Linked DNA regions of Homo sapiens: regions 1, 2, 3, 4, 6 and 7 are each linked to region 5. Evidence: promoter capture Hi-C in 16 types of primary human blood cells and fetal thymus (Javierre and others, 2016). All regions are on one chromosome and are shown on one strand. Each heading gives the region's core, a stretch centred on a gene start or on the middle of the fragment in contact. The rest is flanking DNA. Distances are from core to core; before and after follow the strand shown.

Region 1 (2,700 bases), core at 34-2,533, 840 kb before region 5:
ATAACATCATGTAACTCTTAAGAGTATTACTCACTATAGACTAACATATTTTTTCTCACTGAAAGGCAAAATGTCAATAAATCAAATGTTAACTTGTCCCTTTCAAGATAAACGTGCTCCTCCTTTTCATGGTTCCATTGAGTCAAATACTTAGAAACAAAAACAAATAGGAAGATATGGTTTTAAAATATTCATTTGTAGGATTAAATAATTTCAAACAGCATCAAAAAATATTTAAAATCCATTTTCTCCTTACCTTTCTATGTGCTAAAATTCAGTAAGTGGAGCTGATATAAAACCTGATATTAATAATCTTATTATGTCTAACAGTAATAGTTTTATTGTGGCTTAGCATGGCTTAATGTGGCTTACACTTCAAACAGCTTATCCTGTAACACAATCAGCTTTGGTCCATGACTCAGAAACAAAGCTACAGTGAAAATGGTGAAACCTACAGATTGTGGGGAGTACACACTATACTCGGCTGGAGATAAGCCAGAACCAAATGCTGATTATATAAGTATATTTTAATGTAACTTGCATATTAAAAAGTTATTATATTTTCTAAGTGTAGTTATCGCTTATAAAAAATTATAGTTTTCTAAAGTGTTTTAAAGTTTATATTGAGATTCAAAATATTTGTAAATGATAACACCTTGAGTTATAGATTCAAAAACTTGTTTTTAAATTCAGATATGAAGAAAATAGCTGTAATCTGCTTAAGATAATGTGCTCTATTTTTAAAAGTAAGTTTTAATGTAGTTTTCTAAAATATCCTTAATACATATACCTATTTTACATTTTATGACAGTCAAAAATTCTTTGAAAAAGAAACTTTTTCTCCTTGTTCTTTCTTTTTTTATTATACTTTAATTTTTAGGGTACATGTGCACAATGTGCAGGTTTGTTACACATGTATACATGTGCCATGTTGGTGTGCTGCACCCATTAACTCATCATTTAGTATTAGGTATATCTCCTAATACTATCCCTCCCCACTCTCCCCACCCCACAACAGGCCCCAGTGTGTGATGTTCCCCTTCCTGTGTCCATGTGTTCTCATTGTTCAATTCCCACCTAGGAGTGAGAACACGCGGTGTTTGGTTTTTTGTCCTTGCAATAGTTTGCTGAGAATGATGGCTTCCAGCTTCATCCATGTCCCTACAAAGGACATGAACTCATCATTTTTTATGGCTGCATAGTATTCCATGGTGTATATGTGCCACATTTTCTTAATCCAGTCTATCATTGTTGGACATTTGGGTTGGTTCCAAGTCTTTGCTATTGTGAATAGTGCCGCAATAAACATACGTGTGCATGTGTCTTTATAGCAGCATGTTTTATAATCCTTTGGGTATATACCCAGTAATGGGATGGCTGGGTCAAATGATATTTCTAGTTCTAGATCCCTGAGGAATCGCCACACTGACTTCCACAATGGTTGAACTAGTTTACAGTCCCACCAACAGTGTAAAAGTGTTCCTATTTCTCCACATCCTCTCCAGCACCTGTTGCTTCCTGACTTTTTAATGATTGCCATTCTAACTGGTGTGAGATGGTATCTCATTGTGGTTTTGATTTGCATTTCTCTGATGGCCAGTGATGATGAGCATTTTTTCATGTATCTTTTGGCTGCATAAATGTCTTCTTTTGAGAAGTGTCTGTTCATATCCTTTGCCCACTTTTCAATGGGGTTGTTTGTTTTTTTCTTATAAATTTGTTGGGGTTCATTGTAGATTCTGGATATTAGCCCTTTGTCAGATGAGTAGATTGCAAAAATTTTCTCCCATTCTGTAGGTTGCCTGTTCACTCTGATGGTGGTTTATTTTGCTGTGCAGAAGCTCTTTAGTTTAATTAGATCCCATTTGTCAATTTTGGCTTTTGTTGCCATTGCTTTTGGTGTTTTAGACATGAAGTCCTTGCCCATGCCTATGTCCTGAATGGTATTGCCCAGGTTTTCTTCTAGGGTTTTTATGGTTTTAGATCTAATGTTTAAGTCTTTAATCCATCTTGAATTAGTTTTTGTATAAGGTGTAAGGATGGGATCCAGTTTCAGCTTTCTACATATGGCTAGGCAGTTTTCCCAGCACCATTTATTAAATAGGGAATCCTTTCCTCATTTCTTGTTTTTGCCAGGTTTGTCAAAGATCAGATAGTTGTAGATATGCGGCATTATTTCTGAGGGCTCTGTTCTGTTCCATTGGTCTATATCTCTGTTCTTTCTTATCTTGGAAACTATTTCAGATAATAGAGAATTTCAGATTAATTAAGAACTAAAATTTGAGGTATCCAAAGCCTGATGATTTAGTGGATATGATATTTCAACACAATCATAAACTCTAATATTAGAAAATTGAAGTTATTTTTAATTTTAGTTCTGTATAATTGAACCTAGCTTAGAATATGAGCTCTTTTGCTTAGTGGCGTTTCACACACATGCTTCTGTTTTAAAGCTCAGTCTCTTTGAGGTAAATATTCAGTTCAAAATTCTCCTCTTCTTCGTTTTTTTTCTGCATGGAAGTGTTCTAAGTACCTGGTGGACTTGTTGTGTCATCAGGGACACTGCTCTGCACCAAATGTCATTTTCTGATCTCACTGGCCTCTGCAGAGATCTAATAATCCATTCTTCCTGGTGCTTAGGATCATCGTGAGTCTGTGCTATACCTGCAATTGTTTAGTCAATGCGGTCAGCTTCATTGT
Region 2 (2,723 bases), core at 94-2,593, 620 kb after region 5:
CCATCTACTAAGAATCTGAAAGACTGATGGGTCATGCTTTGTGGCCCAAAACCACAATCTAGTCTGATGGTTCCATTGCCTCTGCCATCTGATATGATATCACACGGAGGGAAGAGGCAGAGCCTAGGAATAAGGCAGCCTGGAGCCAGATTATGGAGGGCTCCATGCCAAAAATACTAAATATAGATTATTTCTGGACTCATAAACTTCCCATGCCAAGAAGTCATTTTCTCTGATGTTTGTGGGGGAAGCATGGACATGGTATTGAAGACACCAGTGATTTAGTTAAATCACAGGAAACTCCTATAATCCCTGTGCTACTAGAATTCCCAGCAATACGTTTATGTAAGTAACTATAACATGAGATAATAAAAAGCTACCTAGAGAGAAGAAGAAGAAGCCCAAAACTCTTCAAGTCTCTTTAGAAGCAAAGGAAGTACTTTTCTGATGCAAAGCTTCGTAGCAGATATAGTAACACTTTCCGTTTCCACTTTCTGAATTACTCATCTCACTATTTACCATCCCAGAGTTACCAAGGGTAACAGTGAGACAAAAATGTACCCCCACTGGGACTAAAAAGGAAGTCTGGGTTGTATTTCACACCTGCTCCCTCTCCTTCAGCTCTGCATTGGGTGACAGATGCAAAACTCCTTCAGATTTGACTAAAGGTAACCCACACTCCTGGAGTTTGAGTGAATACCCACAAGCCACAGGCTAAATATGTCAGAGGGAGTTTTATAGGGGTTCCCACAGCTTCCCCATTTCCTTCCAGCTAAGTAACATGGTGCCCAGGGTTCTTTTGGTGCAGTGCAGCTTGGAGATTTGATATACGCAAAGGGGTGCATCTGTTTCCAGAAGGGCATAGTTAGCTGCCATTGGCCATCATGCTCGACACAAACTACTCCGCGTTCACATCATCACAATTTACATTATCTTCTATATCATTTTCTGTGACACATTAAATTCCCCATGCAAAAGCCATTTTCCTATCTCTTTCCTTTGCTAGAAAAAGAAGTCAATAATGACCACATTGCTTAGTGCTTACAATAGTTTTATTGCTTTTGTACTAGGTTATGATAGACACTGCACAGACATTTTAATTCCATTTAACAAAAATAAAACAGAAATACAACTTTCAAAATGAAATTGAGTACTGGCTAGGCACAGTGACTCACGTGTGTAATCCCAACTCTTTGGGAGGTCAAGAGCAGGGAGTTCAAAACCGGCTTGGGCAACATAGTAAGACCCAATTTCTACAAAAATAGAAAATTAGCTTGGCATGGTGGCATGCTCCTACAGTCCTAGCTACTCAGGAGACTAAGGCAGGAGGATTCATTGAGCACAGATGTTCGAGGCTGCAGTGAGCAAGGATGGGACGTACTGTATTCCAGCCTGGGCAACAGAGCTAGACCCTGTCTCAAGAAAGAAAGACAAAGGGGGTGGGGGGAGGAAGGAAGGAGGGGAAGGAAGGAAAAAAGGAAGGAGGGAAGGAAGGGAGGGAGGGAGGGAACCAAGTACCAGTGCTGAGGACATGTAATATACTAAAAGAGCCTATAATGTGAATTTGAACTTTGTCTGCCACCTTGAAAAAGAGTAATAGAGAAGTCTTTTTTTTTTTTTTAACATATGCTGTGTCTCACAAGCCCTTCATCCAATGGGAAAACAGCAAGTGTGGAAAATTTAGAACACATCTAGTATTAGGGCATAGCCCAAGTTGCTGTAGCAAAGTTACACAAAACACAGTGCCTCAAGCAGAATGGAAAAATATTTCCTTTTAACAGAGGAGCACATAGGTTGTGGGTAAGGCAAGGCCAAGAAGCTGACTCTGCTCCATGAGGTCCTCCAGGGACCCAGGATCATCTTCTGTTTTTAAAAAAAATTAAATCTAATTTCTATAGAGCCAAATACACTTTTCCAAGTGTTTCCACTTGTTGCCCTAGCAACATTCCCTAGAATGTTGCTCTTATCTGCAGCACCTCCTCTTTATTCTGCCCCAAAGGAAGGGTAAAAGAGAGTACAGAGCAATCAGTTTCTTTTTAAAGGGTATTAGCAAGAAGTTGCAACTCACATCCCATTGGCCAGAATTTAATCACATATCTAGCTTAAGTTACCCCAGGAAAAGGAGTTTGTGTGCCCAATTAGAACTTGGAAGATTATAATACAAAAAGGATAAAGGGGGAAATGAATACGATTACTATATGCCACAACATCAAAATCTTTACAAAGCTTGGGGATTGGATTCTTTTCTAATATCTTTCAACAAATGAGAATATAGTACTGGAACGCAATTTGCAAACAACACAGCAAAAGTTTCATGCAATGATAGTCACTTCTGGCATCTTTGTTGTTAATTTTTGTCTATTACTTCGTTCCACTTTTTTGCAAAGATTGGAATCAATTAAAAGCATGAAATTGTCTGTCAAATCTGAGAGACTGATCCCAGATAGTATCTTTGTTATTTCCCTTTAGCACAATCCAAAATTTATTTTCAATGACTCTGGCAATCATAAAATGAAGAAGTCTGTGAAGCAAGAACACTCCAGCCCAAAGCATTTCTGCAGTGTTTGGCAAGGGTCTACAATTCAAGGTTATCTGGTGACCACATCAAATACCTTGTGCTGTTTTTGAACCATATATTTCCTATACTATAAGCTATGACTCTGATCTGATCTTAATTTCCCATGACAACTACAAAAATGCAAGAAGGACATAGTTCTGTAGAA
Region 3 (2,700 bases), core at 116-2,615, 910 kb before region 5:
TAACACAACTAAGTTAGTATTTTATTTTCAGTTTTTAAAATATGTTTATTTTTGTGATTTCTTCTCATAGTTGTAGTCCTACCTGATTACACAATTTAATTTCTTGGAAGGTTTTCCCTCTCTTCATTGAAGACAATCTTACGTAGAGCAAGTTAATTGGTGCCATTCTGCATTTCAGACAGAATTAATTTAAGTGAAAGAGAACCATATGACTTTGCAAGACTATGTGAATATCTAGAATCTGCTCTATTTGTCTAGGAGGTAGTGCAGAACTAAAGGGGTACATATGGTACTATACAGAAGCTTAAAGGTCTATCTCTTGATTTCACTGTGGAGAGGGTATGATATTTAAGAAACAAAATGGAGAAAGGGAAAAGTCTATCACCAGGCAAGTTCCTTAGAACTAAGAGATAGGTTACAGAAATAAGAGGTAGGATAATAGGTATTTACCAGTTCTCATGCTAAGAGTATTGTTGGCAGAAGAAAGAATATGATTGAGAGTAAATGGTAGGAAGTATATAATATTAACATTATTATAATCTCCATAATCATCTCTAGGGAGGAGCTTGCATTCAGACAATACTGTTTCTTAAGATTCACTACAATGGCTATTTTCCAGATAAAAAAAGTTTGACATCTTTAAATTCCGTTAGATTGAGGCAACTAGAAACAGTAAATATTCTTGAGTACATACTGCCACCCAGTGGATATATCTGTGTGATGCACAAAGCATTTGCGAACGAAGAGGACAAAGAGGTTTTGACTATGATGCTAGTGTTAAAGCTTTGCTTGCATTCAGTGAAGGCCATAGATCCTATGTAATCCCAAACTGAATTACACCACTCATTCAAAATTCTAGACTAGACTTTAATACACATTTTCAAAGTATTCTGATAAATATTACCAGAGGCTTTTGGCAATGGGAGAAAAATATTATGTGTGCTTACCAACACTATAGATACTAACTTCTTATTAATATTAATAAAACTAATGTCAGTGAATTTCCAATAAGATGAATCAGAGATACTCAACTTCTAGTAAGGAAGGAAGAGGGATGTCATAGCAGAGACTAGACAGTGGAAAAATTTGGCAAACACTGCCTCAGTCATATGATCAACAATACTAAGTCATATTGGTAGTATATACCTTGGATATGGTAATCTTGACTGCCTTGGATGCTAAGAACTCTGGCATGAAGTCTAAGAGAATTACACTTTTGGCATAATAATCTTGGATTTCCCTTTATCTGAAAGCTACTAAAGGTTTACTAGAGTGGAAATACACGCAGACAATGGATGGAATTTGGGTCATTTAAATGAATATTGAGACCATATTTATGTAGAGACTTCCTAGGGAGTCCTGGTATTCTGTAGATAAGTCCAATTATATTTGTGTTTCCTAAAAAGGAATAATACAATTTACGGAACTGAAATAACATTGAAAGTCTAAGAAAAACTACTTGTCTGAAACTTTATTTTTTGCTACGTTTATACATCATCTTCTCCAAGAAGTTTACACATCCACATGTGAACACTTCTGGATAGGAAATCTGCTAACTAATGTGTTCTCCATTGTTGGGTATGAGATTTCTTGACCTCACCATACTTACAAGTTAATAAATTAGCCTATCACTGTTTCTTAAATGTTGGCGGAAGACATGAGATAGAAGACTTCATTATTCATGCTTAGCAAGCAGCATGAACATCATATTTGAGTAAGTTCTCCTTATGTCCCATGGAGGCACCATAGAAGGGTCCAGGTATATCTCGTGCATATAGTGGATTTGTGTCTTAGGAATACTGAGCTTGGGGAATCCACTGCTTTTATAATAAGCAGAAAGTAAGGTGGCTCTTTTTCCCAAAGTGGGACCTAAACTTATCCCTTAAGGTTGCTTTCTGCAAACACAATCTTGAAAAATGGTGGCATTAAAAAAAGGTCAAAGCTTTGCATTCTTGGTATGCCCAGGAAAAAATGCTCTGGGAGGTTTAAGGCCTATTGGCAATTGTTTTTCCTAACATTCATACAAAGCCAAAATCAGCCTTCCTATAATTTCCACTAATTGGTTCTGTGTTTTCCAATCTCTTTGGTATTTTGTATGTCAGACACCTGCAGTGTGCTATGTTATGCCACTGAGATTTATTTTCTCCATGCTAATCATTTCTAATCCCTTTGAGACCATTCCTCCATGATCATATATGGCTTTGGGATCTCTCACCATTAGTATTGCTTTCCTCTGAACTTGTTTAGGTGTTACTTCCCAAAATGGACTATGATATTGCAAGTATGGACCATAAACTGTTATTTAGCTATACATTTCTATTCCACTCTTATGCCAGTGGATGGAAACTATGTAGTTTTTCATTAAAGGAATCATCATGCCAACCAGATTCCATTTAATATAACGGAAAATCTAAGAGTAAACTCCTTCTTTTAAATAGTTGTTGTTTAGCAGTTCTAGTAGAAAAGTGTTAAGTCATTACTGTCTGTATTTTGCAAATTATGGACCTCCTGTATATGAACTGTTTGTTTTCCATGTTAATATATATGGCATATGACTCCCATATTCCTTTTTGGGGGGCAGGGGAGGGGTGCAGCATCTCACTCTGTTCCCAGGCTGGAGTGCAGTGGTGCAATCATGGCTCACTACAGCCTCGACCTCCTGAACTGAAGCAATCCTCCCAGCTCAGCCTCTCAAGTAGC
Region 4 (2,753 bases), core at 181-2,680, 870 kb before region 5:
TAAATTTTGATTTGGCTAGTTTTCTTAAATTATAGAAACACTGAAAAATTGGATTTATATTGATCATCCTTTTTTGACTTCTATATTTCAAATGTTGTCAACATACAGGAAGACATTACAAACTTAAAGGATAAAATTATAACTGTAAAAGAATCTATCATTGAAAAAACTTGTTTTCTTGAGGAAGAAAAAAAGACACATGAAAAATTAAGAAAAGAAATAGAGGTAAGTCTTAATTATCTAGATTTCAATGTTTTATGGGACCATTTTTAAAACTTAACACTATATTCATATTTCCATAGTTTACTCTCAATACTCAAAACAGTTGAAGAACAAGAAAGAACTATAAAATTTAGTAAATACAAATCATTAATAGATAACTAGAGATAACCCCCTCATTCAAAGATGTTCAAATATGTGAATGTGTTCAAACAATGCAAGCATTCACTCCTATTTAAATCTGGGCGAGGGTTCTTCCAGGTTTTTCTCATTCCACTAAGAACATGATACCCAATTAATGGCTAGAAAGCAGCTATGTAGTCAAAGAGGATGCCCATTCTTAGATATCAAAGACTCCTCAAAATAGAATAAAACACAATGGAAAGCATCGTCTTTCCAAACCTCTCTGACTTCATATTCGCAATTATCAAGAGTCAAGTTAAAAAAACAAACTGAAAATATGCAAAATTGAAAGTCAGAGTAAATTCATAATGTGTTGTGGTGCTGCCTGTGGACTTCTATTGTCATTATTGTTTGGATGAATGGTGAACAGAAATGTAAAATAATATGCTATTAAGGGCAAATAATTTTTGCCTGAATACATTAATTTGGAAAATAAAAATATGCATGTTTCAACTTGTTTTTGACTAATTTGACACAATACAAAGCATCTGAGGAAATTAAAGATAAAAATCCTCATCTTTACATATTCGCTATTAAAAAATATCACGATTTTACCTTTTAGTTTACTAGGAATCTAAATAACGATTCTTTTTGCCCTTGTAGACATTAAGGTTCATTATAAAACAATAAATAGTAAGACAGTGTATCAGTGGTAAAAGAGTAGAAAAAAATATTATTATTATTATTTTTTCTTTATTTTTGAGACGGAGTCTTGCTCTGTCACCCAGACTGGAGTACAGTGGTGCGATCTCAGCTCACTGCCGCCTCGGCCTCCCGGGTTCCAGCGATTTTCCCATCTCAGCCTCCCAGATAACTGGGATTACAGGCACGTACCACAATGCCCAGCTAATTTTTGTATTTTTAGTAGAGATGGGGTTTCACCATGTTGGCCAGGCTGGTCTCAAACTCCTGACCTCAGGTGATCCGCCTGCCTCGGCCTCCCAAAGTGCTGGGATTACAGGCGTGAGCCACCACACCCGGCCAGAAAAAAATTATTAATGAAAAAAAGAATCCAGAAATTATGCATCCTTGAGTGGTAAAAACAAAATAGATTACCTCTATGGAAAAATAAAGAAAAATGTTGAAATAAAACTGGATTCCTACCTCATAATACACACGTGCACACACACACACACACACACACACACACACACTTCTAAGTATTGAATACAACATAGGATAAAAACTTAAAAATTTGTGTCAGAAAAGCATTTATTTTAAAAGAGAAAAACACTCCATAAATTCTGTGGTTAAATATCTTTAGTTTTGACTATGCCATAAATTTCCAGATTATGGGAATATACCATCACAAGAGAAAGAACAAGACTCCATTCTAGATTATTATAACACATGTATGTGATAAGAAAGAGATAAGAAAATGTCAAATCAGTGAAACATTGGGCAAATGGTATAAAAAGACCATTTTTCTGAACCATGAATATCAGAAATAAAGAAAAATATGACCATCCTCATTAGCAATAAGAGACTGATAATTAAAACCACAGCAAAGTTCCATGTTTAGCCCATCTGATTATCGGTATTACAGTTGGGAGATGTTGAGCGTGGGAATTTTAATACAGTATTCTTGTGAATGTAAATTGCTAAAAGCACTTTGGAAAGAAATGTGAAATTACCTTTTAATTTTTTTACAGTAACATATTTTATTGAGGTATAATTGTCATAAGAGTAAGTACACAAATTATAAATGGATGGCTTGATTTATTTAGACTAACATGTACATATATTTATGTTGGCATTACCTAGATCAAGATATAGAACTTTCCCAGCATGTCCAGAAAGTTCTCTTCTACCCTTTTTATCAAATAGCCACTATTCTGATTTTTATAAACAGCTTTACTAAGATAAAATTCACATACCATACAGTTCACCGATTTTTGTCAGATATCCTGCAACAAAGTTTTATACATGAAAACAAATTATTGAGAGATTTTTTCTTTTCTTTTTTTTTTTTTTGAGACAGAGTCTCGCCCCATCGCCCAGGCTAGAGTGCAGTAGTGCAATCTCGGCTCACTGCAAGCTCTGCCTCCCAGGTTCACGCCATTCTCCTGCCTCAGCCTCCGGAGTAGCTGGGACTACAGGCGCCTGCCACCACACCCAGCTAATTTTTTGCATTTTTAGTAGAGACGGGGTTTCACCATGTTAGCCAGGATGGTCTTGATCTCCTGACCTCATGATCCACCCGCCTCGGCCTCCCAAAGTGTTGGGATTACAGGCGTGAGCCACCGCGCCCAGCCTTAATTTAACTTTTAAGTTCAGGGGTATGTATGCAGGTTTGTTATATAGGTAAATTTCTGTCATAGTTTGTTGTACAGATTATTTCAATAGCCAGG
Region 5 (2,700 bases), core at 171-2,670:
GCCTCGGCCTCCAAAAGTACTGGAATTACAGGAGTGAGCCACCGTGCCTGGCCATAAATCTGTTTTAACGCACCCTCCTCCAAGTGGTTCTGATGCTTACTGAAATTTGTGAAACTCTGGCCTACTCTACAAAACCCTAATGTCTTAGGATGGCATAGAAATCCTGACTGACTTTCCTACCATGTTCCTTGTCATTATTTTCTCCTCTCCTGTCCCACCCTGGCCCACCCTTCAATTTCATTCTTTCATTAGCTATCAAACCTGTATGTGTCTTTTTGTTCTAAGCACCAATAATATAAGGAAGACAGTCCAGCTCCTAACTGTCTTGCTGACCTAGGACTGGGGTGCTCCAGCCACATGACAACCCCTGGAATTAAGTACACACCATGTCATTTTAAGTGACAAGCCTCTGCCATAGCATCTCCTTCTTCTTGGTGAATTCCTATGTCTTTGGTGGCTCATTCTCAAATGTCCCTGTTCCTGAATTACTCAGAGGGCTAATCCCCAGTTTCTCTGTGCCTCCACAGCTGCCTGTCATTTCATTTATCCCAAAGTGGCATTCCCATTTGTTTACCTGTCTACTAGGATACTCCTAGAATGCAGGTAGCATGAGGGAAGAGCCTTCACTCATCTTTGTGTAGACGGCATTGTGACCCTGGTGACCAACCCTGGCACACATCAGAATCATCTGGGAGCTTTTCAAAAATATGAATGCCAGAGCTCACCCCTGAACCTACAGGAACTGAGCCTTACACATCCATATTTTAAAATGTCCCCACATCACCGTTGCACACTGTTCTGCACAGAGCAGGTATTTTTAATAGTTCTCGAATGTCTAGTCAATTACTTAGCAAGGCTGCCTGGAGAATCATGTCTACCTTAGCTTACTTCTCCGGCTTTGTAGGTTTTTGTTTTCTTTTGATTTCAGTTTCCATTTCCTCTAACTTGAAAGTATGTGCATTGGTAACAGCCACACAGCAGTCATTACTGATAAAAGGCGACATTTTGTTGAGATGATTTTAGTTATTGACCTAATCTCTGGTATTTTAAGGTTAATATATTTTTTACAGTCTCAAATATCCAGCGGTAACCTCAAATTAGAGTTGCCTGTTAAACAGTTTCTCAAGTATCTTTCAGGATTGTAGTCACTCTGCGGGCTAATCGCTCACCAGGTGTCCGTGGCTGATCCCAGTTATTCTGATTAACCTCTAAGGTGATTGTGAGACTTTAAACCGTCTCACCTGTAGCCGACCAAGCCAGCTCAAGTCAACATCCTGGGCTGTTAACCCGCGATAAGGTCGGACGGGGCCTCAGTGGAGAATACGTGGGGAAGTTCTCTGGGGCGGGCGCAGTCTGCTGCTGATTCTGAGAAACCGAAACTCAGCTGTTAAAACCGCTGCCTCTGCACTTTGGAATCCCATCTTGAGACTCGCTAAGCGTCCCAGCCGCATCCCTCCCGCAGCGACGGCGGCCCGGGACCCGCGGGCTGTGAACCATGAACACCCGCAATAGAGTGGTGAACTCCGGGCTCGGCGCCTCCCCTGCCTCCCGCCCGACCCGGGATCCCCAGGACCCTTCTGGGCGGCAAGGGGAGCTGAGCCCCGTGGAAGACCAGAGAGAGGGTTTGGAGGCAGCCCCTAAGGGCCCTTCGCGGGAGAGCGTCGTGCACGCGGGCCAGAGGCGGTGAGTATTTTAACAACCTGGCTTCGGGGCGGGAGCCCGGGCCCCAAACATACTCACTCACAAGCACCTTGGTCCTTGGAGTTTAAAACCACAGGGGCCCAACAACAGGGATTTTGACTGAATGAAAGCTCATTTGCTTAAATGAAAGTATCCATGCCGCACCTTATAAATTGAGTCGGCTAGTTTGCAGTCCTTTGGTAAATAACCAGCCCGGTTCCTTCCAGGAATACTACTTTCCTGATTTTTGTGACTGGCTACAGGATTGAAAGATATGGGTGTGTCGGAACTGCCTAGGCATCCAGTAAGATGTCATTTTCCAGGTATCTCCAGAACTCATACTCCAACCAGTATGGAAATAACTTTTCCCTTACTGTTTTTAAAAATTTGGTGCTGGGCCAGGCGCGTTGGCTCAAGCCTGTTATCCCAGCACTTTGGGAGGCCAAGGCAGGCAGATCACCTGAGGTCAGGAGTTCGAAACCAGCCTGGCCAACATGGTGAAACCCAGTCTTTACTAAAAATAAAAAATAAGCTGGGTGTGATGGCACGTGCCTGTAGTCCCAGCTACCTGGGAGGCTGAGGTAGGAGAATCGCTTGAACCCGGGAGGCGGAGGTTGCAGTGAGCGGAAATTGCGCCATTGCACTCCAGCCTGGGCAACAGAGCGAGACTGTCTCAAAACAAAACAAAACAGAAAAACAAAACTTGGTGTCCTAAACGGAATTACTGTATCAGACACTAACAGGTAAGGGTCAACAAGAAATGTGATATGGGGTAGAAGGTTCAAATTCTGCCTCTAGGTAGGAGCAAGCCTACGTCCCAGCAAGACTCGCAGATAAACTAGCCTCTTACAACCAGAGGAGTGGAGCTGAGAGAGTGAGGAGGTGAGTGACCATAGTACCTCTCATCCCTGATGTTGATATGTGCTCTATGCAGGAACAGATAGGTAGCTTTTATTCCTGGTCTTTGGTTCAGGGACTGCAGTGAGTATCCGGGAAACATTTATTAAGCAAGTGTCATGA
Region 6 (2,700 bases), core at 182-2,681, 820 kb before region 5:
CAGGTGAATATCCAGGTGGCATCAGTATGCTTAAGTAACAGTAATGCAGGCAGAATCCCATCCCAAGGTGAAGCATTTCCACAGACACTCTAAACTGTGAATCTAACTGCACTAGTTGCTTTCTTGTGACTAGATTTAGCCTAGAACCTAAGTGCAAGCTCACCCCCTTACAGGTGGAATTTGAGGCCTTAGGTGTGAGAAATAGAAGGATAATATGCCTCAAACCAAAAGAGTAGAAAAAGGGAAATTACATGTTTATTGCACTTTTGAGAAATGAGATAGTAAATGAAAGGCTAGAAATACAATAATTTAAGAGGGGGATTTTCTAGAGCTTGGGCAATAGGACTGTTGCAGAGCTCATGAAAAGGGTGACACTGAAGATGCAAGAAAATAGAAGGTAATTCATGCAGTAGTCCTGGAAAGCCAGGAGGGGACAGGATCCATACAGAGAGGAAGGCATAGCCTTGGGAAGAAAGAGCATTCCTGAGACAGGATGAGAAAAATAAGAGAACGATCAAAGGCAAAAGAAAATTTTAAAGTGAGGAGGAAGGAAATCAAAGGAGCTCTTGTTTAGATAGAGGGTGAGGATAACAGCTAAGGGTAAAAGCACAGAGCTAGTGCAATTGAGAATGAAATGATGTGAACAGACATAAAGCTACTGGGAAAAAAGGGATTGACATTAATGATCTAAGTAATGCAGATCAGAGTAAATCCATGGTGAGCCCACTGAGCTCAGCTTTGCCATGGTTGTCCAGCAATGTTCTGTTGTCCAGGATTAGGAGGCACTGCAAAAGAATGGTTGGCAATTGAATTAATACATTCAATATGTCAAATGCATTTTAATTTTTCTTTTTTTCTTCTTTCCTCCCTCCCTCTCTCCTTCCCTCCCTCATGCTTTCCTTCCTTTCTTCCTTTATTTGATTTTACTTGTAACTGACTTGAAACTCAAACTTTTCTTTTTTAATGAGTTTGGATTTTTACCACAGGGTCATCATGTTAAACAGTTATTCTCTCAATATGGTAGTAGAGTTGTAAACATAGAAGTTATAAAAGGTAACATACCTGGGAAGTAGCTTGCTTACTTTGTTGGCTTATTTTAAAACCAAATTCAACATCTCAGGTTACAAGTGCAGTATTAATATTTATTGAACACCTAAGAAGTGCTAGACATTTTCTAGGGCACCATACAAACATGTAACTTGATTTAAGAAAGTATTCCAATTGGTATGATTCTGGACCATTTATTCAACAAGTGTACATCTACTAAGGGAATCTCTGCAACATAATGTGCAAGGCATGGTCCTCTCCTTCCTGCCACTAATACCTGAAGCAGATGAAACAGTTCAGCAGCACTGAAAGAGTTAATATAATGAAATACCAAATATGTTTCACAAATTTTCAAGGAGTGAACAAGATGAGCTATCTTTGAGACGATGGGCAGGATATGGATGAAATAGAAAGGAAAGGCTGGGATATTTCAAACCATAGCCTTTGCGTGCTGGAACAACCACGAAACTGAGCACGGGGGTCTAACTATCATGGAGAAGGAATAAAAGAGAATCTTTGAGTCCAAGCTGTATGGAGACTCAGAGGCTGGGTGGGAGTCGGGAAGCAGGGAAACATGTCTCTGAGGATCTACACCATTGGTTCATGTGCTACTCCCTGCGTTGGTTTAGACATGAAATCATAACTATGGCAGGATTCTTTATAAAGTGTCCTATGAATATTATTATTTATAATCATTCCATCATTATAATGCTTTTCAGAACATGAAGTCTTTAAGAATCAGTGTTGTCTGTAATCATTAAAGTAAGTCCCTCTCCAAAGCAATCCTTAGCTGACCAACCCATTAGTCCAAGTTAAACTGGAAACTACTGACTCTGGAGTAAGCCATAAGGCCTTTAAGAGACCTGCAATTATTTCTTTTTTAGCCTGTGAATATGCTAAATAAATATGAAGAAGTGGCAATTTAATTTTTAAAATTTTTCTCTTAAAGGCAGACACTAAGTTGAGATGTTTCTATTGTTTATAGGTATAAATGCTACTAATGGGTTGATGCCATTTTAACATGCCTCTTGAAAGTGAAAAGAAATGGCCTGGTAATTTTTTGTTTTGACAAGTGCTTGAACAAAACCTATCATAATATATCTTATAACCCTCAAAGCTATGGCAGGTCATATGTAAGACCAGACTGACCCTGAATCAGAAAGCCCCCGGACAGTTGGGTGGGTTGTAAGGGATCTCAGGAGACGACTTAGTCCAGATCTACTCACCCCTCCCAAATCCCCTGCTCTTCACACAAAGAGGCTGAATAGTAGCCTGGTCCTGGCTGCCACACTCCTGACCTACACCTCCCAACATACCTAACACTTTGACAGATTCACTCATTCATATAACAAGAACGTACCTGTGGAGAAGAAATTCAGATCCACAGTGAAAAGACAGACATAGTTTCGGCAGTCATGGAGCTTCCAGTTGAGCATGGAAGGCAGATATGTAAGAGCTATTAGGCTAATTATTTAATTATAAATATGGTGAGTTCTCTGCTTCCCCTCTTACACAGCCCACATAAAGCACAGGGAAGAAGGCAAGCATATGCTGTATAAAATATGCTGTGATTCATTTAAGTTACATTCATGTTCTGTGTCCAACAGCAAAACCCAATCAGCTCAAGATTGACTAAGTTCCATTAGAAATCAA
Region 7 (2,752 bases), core at 62-2,561, 800 kb before region 5:
CTCAAAAAAAAAAAAAAAAAAAAAAGGACTTGCTGAGCAAAGAGCCTATCTTGGAAAGAAGGTGTAGGAAAGGAAAAGAAACACATTTGAGCCTTTTTGTGAAAGTGTTTTAACTGTTTGTTTCTAAAATGGTAACATTAAAAATGGCTGAATCTTGACTTGGATGACTTTTTTTTTTTTTTTTTTTTGAGATAGAGTCTTGCTGTCCCCCAGGCTGAAGTGTAATGGCTTGATCTTGGCTCACTGCAACCTCTGCCTCTCGGGTTCAAGCGATTCTCCTGCCTCAGCCTCCCCAGTAGCTGGGATTACAGGCACATGCCACCATGCCCAGCTAATTTTTTGTATTTTTCGTAGAGACAGGGGTTTCACCATGTTGGTCAGGCTGTTCTCGAACTCCTGACCTCAAGTGATCCGCCTGCCTCGGCCTCCCAAAGTGCTGGGATTACAGACGTGAGCCACCGTGCCTGGCCAACCTGAATGACTTTTAAGTAGAACAAATATATGCAAAGAAAATGTCTGGAAGGGTATACACCAAAATAGTAATCGTACTTGGTCCCTGAGAGGCAATACTACTTACTGCATTTTTTTTTTTTTTTTTGGAAACAGAGTTTCGCTGTGTTGCTTAGGCTGGAGTGCAGTGGCACGATCTCAGCTCATTGCAACCTCCGCCTCCCAGGTGCAAGCGATTCTCCTGCCCCAGCCTCCCAGGTAGCTGAGATTGCAGGCGCCCACCATCACACCTGGCTAATTTTTTATGTTTTTAGTAGAGACAGGGTTTTGCCATATTGCCCACGCTGGTCTCGAACTCCTGAGCTCAGGCAATCCACTCTCCATAGCCTCCCAAAGTGCTAGGATTACAGGCGTGAGCCACCGCGCCTGGCCAATCTTTTTCTTTATACATTTTTGTATTGCCTATTTTTTCTCCGTAAGCACACACACTACTTTTACAATTGGGATGTGGTGGGGAAGAGAGGACAGTGAACTATTTTTGTTTAAAAGAGAGACATTTTCACAGTTGGTATTAATCTATAAAATGAATGTTCGCATAGTTAAATTAGCAGGGCAAAGCACCATTGGGGAGGCAGAATATGTGTGACAGAAACAAAACAGAGACTAATTAAAAACAAATGAACACAAAGCTTGGGTTTTGTAACAGCAGCAGAATTTATAGAATTACAGCACCTCTAGAATTATGGAATCCACAATTTCCTGCATGTGTCAGTTTCTGCCAACTTTTGGTTGTCTGTGGTTTTCTTAAAATATCCTTGGAAGGGACTCCCAGGAAATCAGCTCAGTTCAACATTATAATAAAGATTTAAAATTTCTACAGGAGCTTCCTATTCATGACTGTGTTCCAATTTTCTGCCACACACTTTTGATTTAGATCCAAGGTCTACAAAGATTTACTGAATTCCTACAACACAACAAAGGGACTCTTTCTCATGTTACTTAATGTAACTTAATGTTACTTGATGTAAGCTTCTTAAGAAACTGATGAGGTAGGTGTTATTATCCACATTTCCCAGACGGGGGCAAGTGAAGCTCGGAAAGTGTGGTGCACAATCTCACACAGCAAGTTGTTGCCTGGGCTGGGATTTGAACTCAGATCTTATGATTCAGTATCCTGTGTTATTTTAATGCTGTGCTAAGACCACCTCTTGAAAAATCAAAAGATAGCACTAACAGTCCTAGCTTCCCCACATGAAGCCTCTGGGGCCCATCGGGAGGCAGGTTATATAAAGCATTCAATACATGGATGGTTGGGCTTCAAACAGCTCTAATTAAGTAAATGGCTTTATGTCAATTCACTCTATAAGAGCTTTTTAACTCTTCATAATTGTGTCAGGAATTGAGTGAAGAAGTTGTGTTTTTAAAAACTACATTAAAAATAATTCTGTGTTAATAAGTGGAAAGAAATTGAGAAAGTGAAAATTTTAAAAATTGTAAGGAGAGTAATAATAAAATGTTAAAATTATACAAGAAGAGACTTCTGGGTTTTTGTAGACATAGAAATTTCAAAATACTGTTCATGGGTTGCCCTATAAATTCTTGGATGGGTTAAATATAAGCTCTAGCATATTCTAACTTATTCCAGTCTGCCCAGTGATCCCAGGGAAAGGTAATCCACAGCTGCCATTGCCCACATGGTCTATCTCTCCTTGTCAACTTCTTCATATCCTCAATCTAAAATTCATGCTACAGCAATAGACTAGCTTTTTACATTATATATGGTGTGATCATCTAAATGATTGCTACTAGGGAATATGAATATGAAAATATGCATATATACATTGGCCACTGATAATCAATTATTACCCAAGTGGTTTATTTATTTAACAAATAGCTTTATTAAGTCCTACTGGTAATTCAAATTGAAGTTTGTTGCACCTGGTCAAGTGATAAATTACGCTTATGTTCACTTTTTTTGTCCTCAAGAATAATGATTACTACACTATAGGCTCCCTAAAGGAATAGATAGATCGTATTTTATACTTTATTGGTAACAAACACAGCTTGAAGAACAGAACTGATTATGAAGTAGGTACTCAATAAATACTTGTTCAGTTTACTGATTTGCTTATGCATCTTCTTGGTGTTGACAATCAAATAAATTATTAGATTAAAAATAGAAGTGAGATTAGTAAATCTACCAATTCTTTTCCCTTTAGCCATAAAATGTCATGGTGCAATTAATCTATATTAGGCAGTAGCTCTTAATGTGAGCTTCAGAGGAAGTTCCTTTAACTCCCTG

What was found. Contacts are between HindIII fragments. The CHiCAGO score rates a contact against its expected background, and 5 or more counts as called.
Region 1: a contact is called between a fragment that was not itself captured here and the fragment with the promoter of EPSTI1 in region 5, in 3 of 17 cell types (M1 macrophages, M2 macrophages and monocytes). The highest score is 7.0, in M1 macrophages.
Region 2: a fragment that was not itself captured here is called in contact with the fragment with the promoter of EPSTI1 in region 5 in 1 of 17 cell types (total B cells); the score reaches 5.5 in total B cells.
Region 3: a fragment that was not itself captured here is called in contact with the fragment with the promoter of EPSTI1 in region 5 in 1 of 17 cell types (monocytes); the score reaches 5.9 in monocytes.
Region 4: a fragment that was not itself captured here is called in contact with the fragment with the promoter of EPSTI1 in region 5 in 1 of 17 cell types (monocytes); the score reaches 5.2 in monocytes.
Region 6: a contact is called between a fragment that was not itself captured here and the fragment with the promoter of EPSTI1 in region 5, in 4 of 17 cell types (M1 macrophages, M2 macrophages, fetal thymus and 1 more). The highest score is 9.3, in M1 macrophages.
Region 7: a fragment that was not itself captured here is called in contact with the fragment with the promoter of EPSTI1 in region 5 in 4 of 17 cell types (endothelial precursors, M1 macrophages, M2 macrophages and 1 more); the score reaches 9.1 in endothelial precursors.

Annotation. Positions count from the first base shown.
Region 1 is chr13:43,833,622-43,836,321 of GRCh38, reverse strand. It overlaps a transcript of CCDC122 not described here. Among named protein-coding and RNA genes, the nearest start is that of CCDC122, 45 kb to the left of the region's middle. The HindIII fragment of the contact is 4,663 bases long and covers 1-2,700 here.
Region 2 is chr13:42,375,746-42,378,468 of GRCh38, reverse strand. No RefSeq gene overlaps it. Among named protein-coding and RNA genes, the nearest start is that of LINC02341, 48 kb to the left of the region's middle. RefSeq lists an enhancer at 381-460. The HindIII fragment of the contact is 1,771 bases long and covers 458-2,228 here.
Region 3 is chr13:43,903,635-43,906,334 of GRCh38, reverse strand. No RefSeq gene overlaps it. Among named protein-coding and RNA genes, the nearest start is that of LACC1, 25 kb to the right of the region's middle. The HindIII fragment of the contact is 1,159 bases long and covers 786-1,944 here.
Region 4 is chr13:43,856,253-43,859,005 of GRCh38, reverse strand. CCDC122 (coiled-coil domain containing 122) reads left to right here. Exons shown (of 7, transcript NM_144974.5): 6 at 109-225. Among named protein-coding and RNA genes, the nearest start is that of CCDC122, 22 kb to the left of the region's middle. The HindIII fragment of the contact is 4,662 bases long and covers 1-2,753 here.
Region 5 is chr13:42,990,961-42,993,660 of GRCh38, reverse strand. EPSTI1 (epithelial stromal interaction 1) reads left to right here and starts at 1,420. Exons shown (of 11, transcript NM_033255.5): 1 at 1,420-1,683. The coding sequence starts at 1,496. RefSeq lists enhancers at 787-1,026, 1,287-1,406. The HindIII fragment of the contact is 6,494 bases long and covers 1-2,700 here.
Region 6 is chr13:43,812,350-43,815,049 of GRCh38, reverse strand. LOC124903166 (a long non-coding RNA gene) reads right to left here. Exons shown (of 3, transcript XR_007063773.1): 2 at 2,408-2,468; 3 at 234-785. Among named protein-coding and RNA genes, the nearest start is that of ENOX1, 27 kb to the right of the region's middle. The HindIII fragment of the contact is 3,770 bases long and covers 1-2,700 here.
Region 7 is chr13:43,791,274-43,794,025 of GRCh38, reverse strand. No RefSeq gene overlaps it. Among named protein-coding and RNA genes, the nearest start is that of ENOX1, 5.7 kb to the right of the region's middle. The HindIII fragment of the contact is 340 bases long and covers 1,142-1,481 here.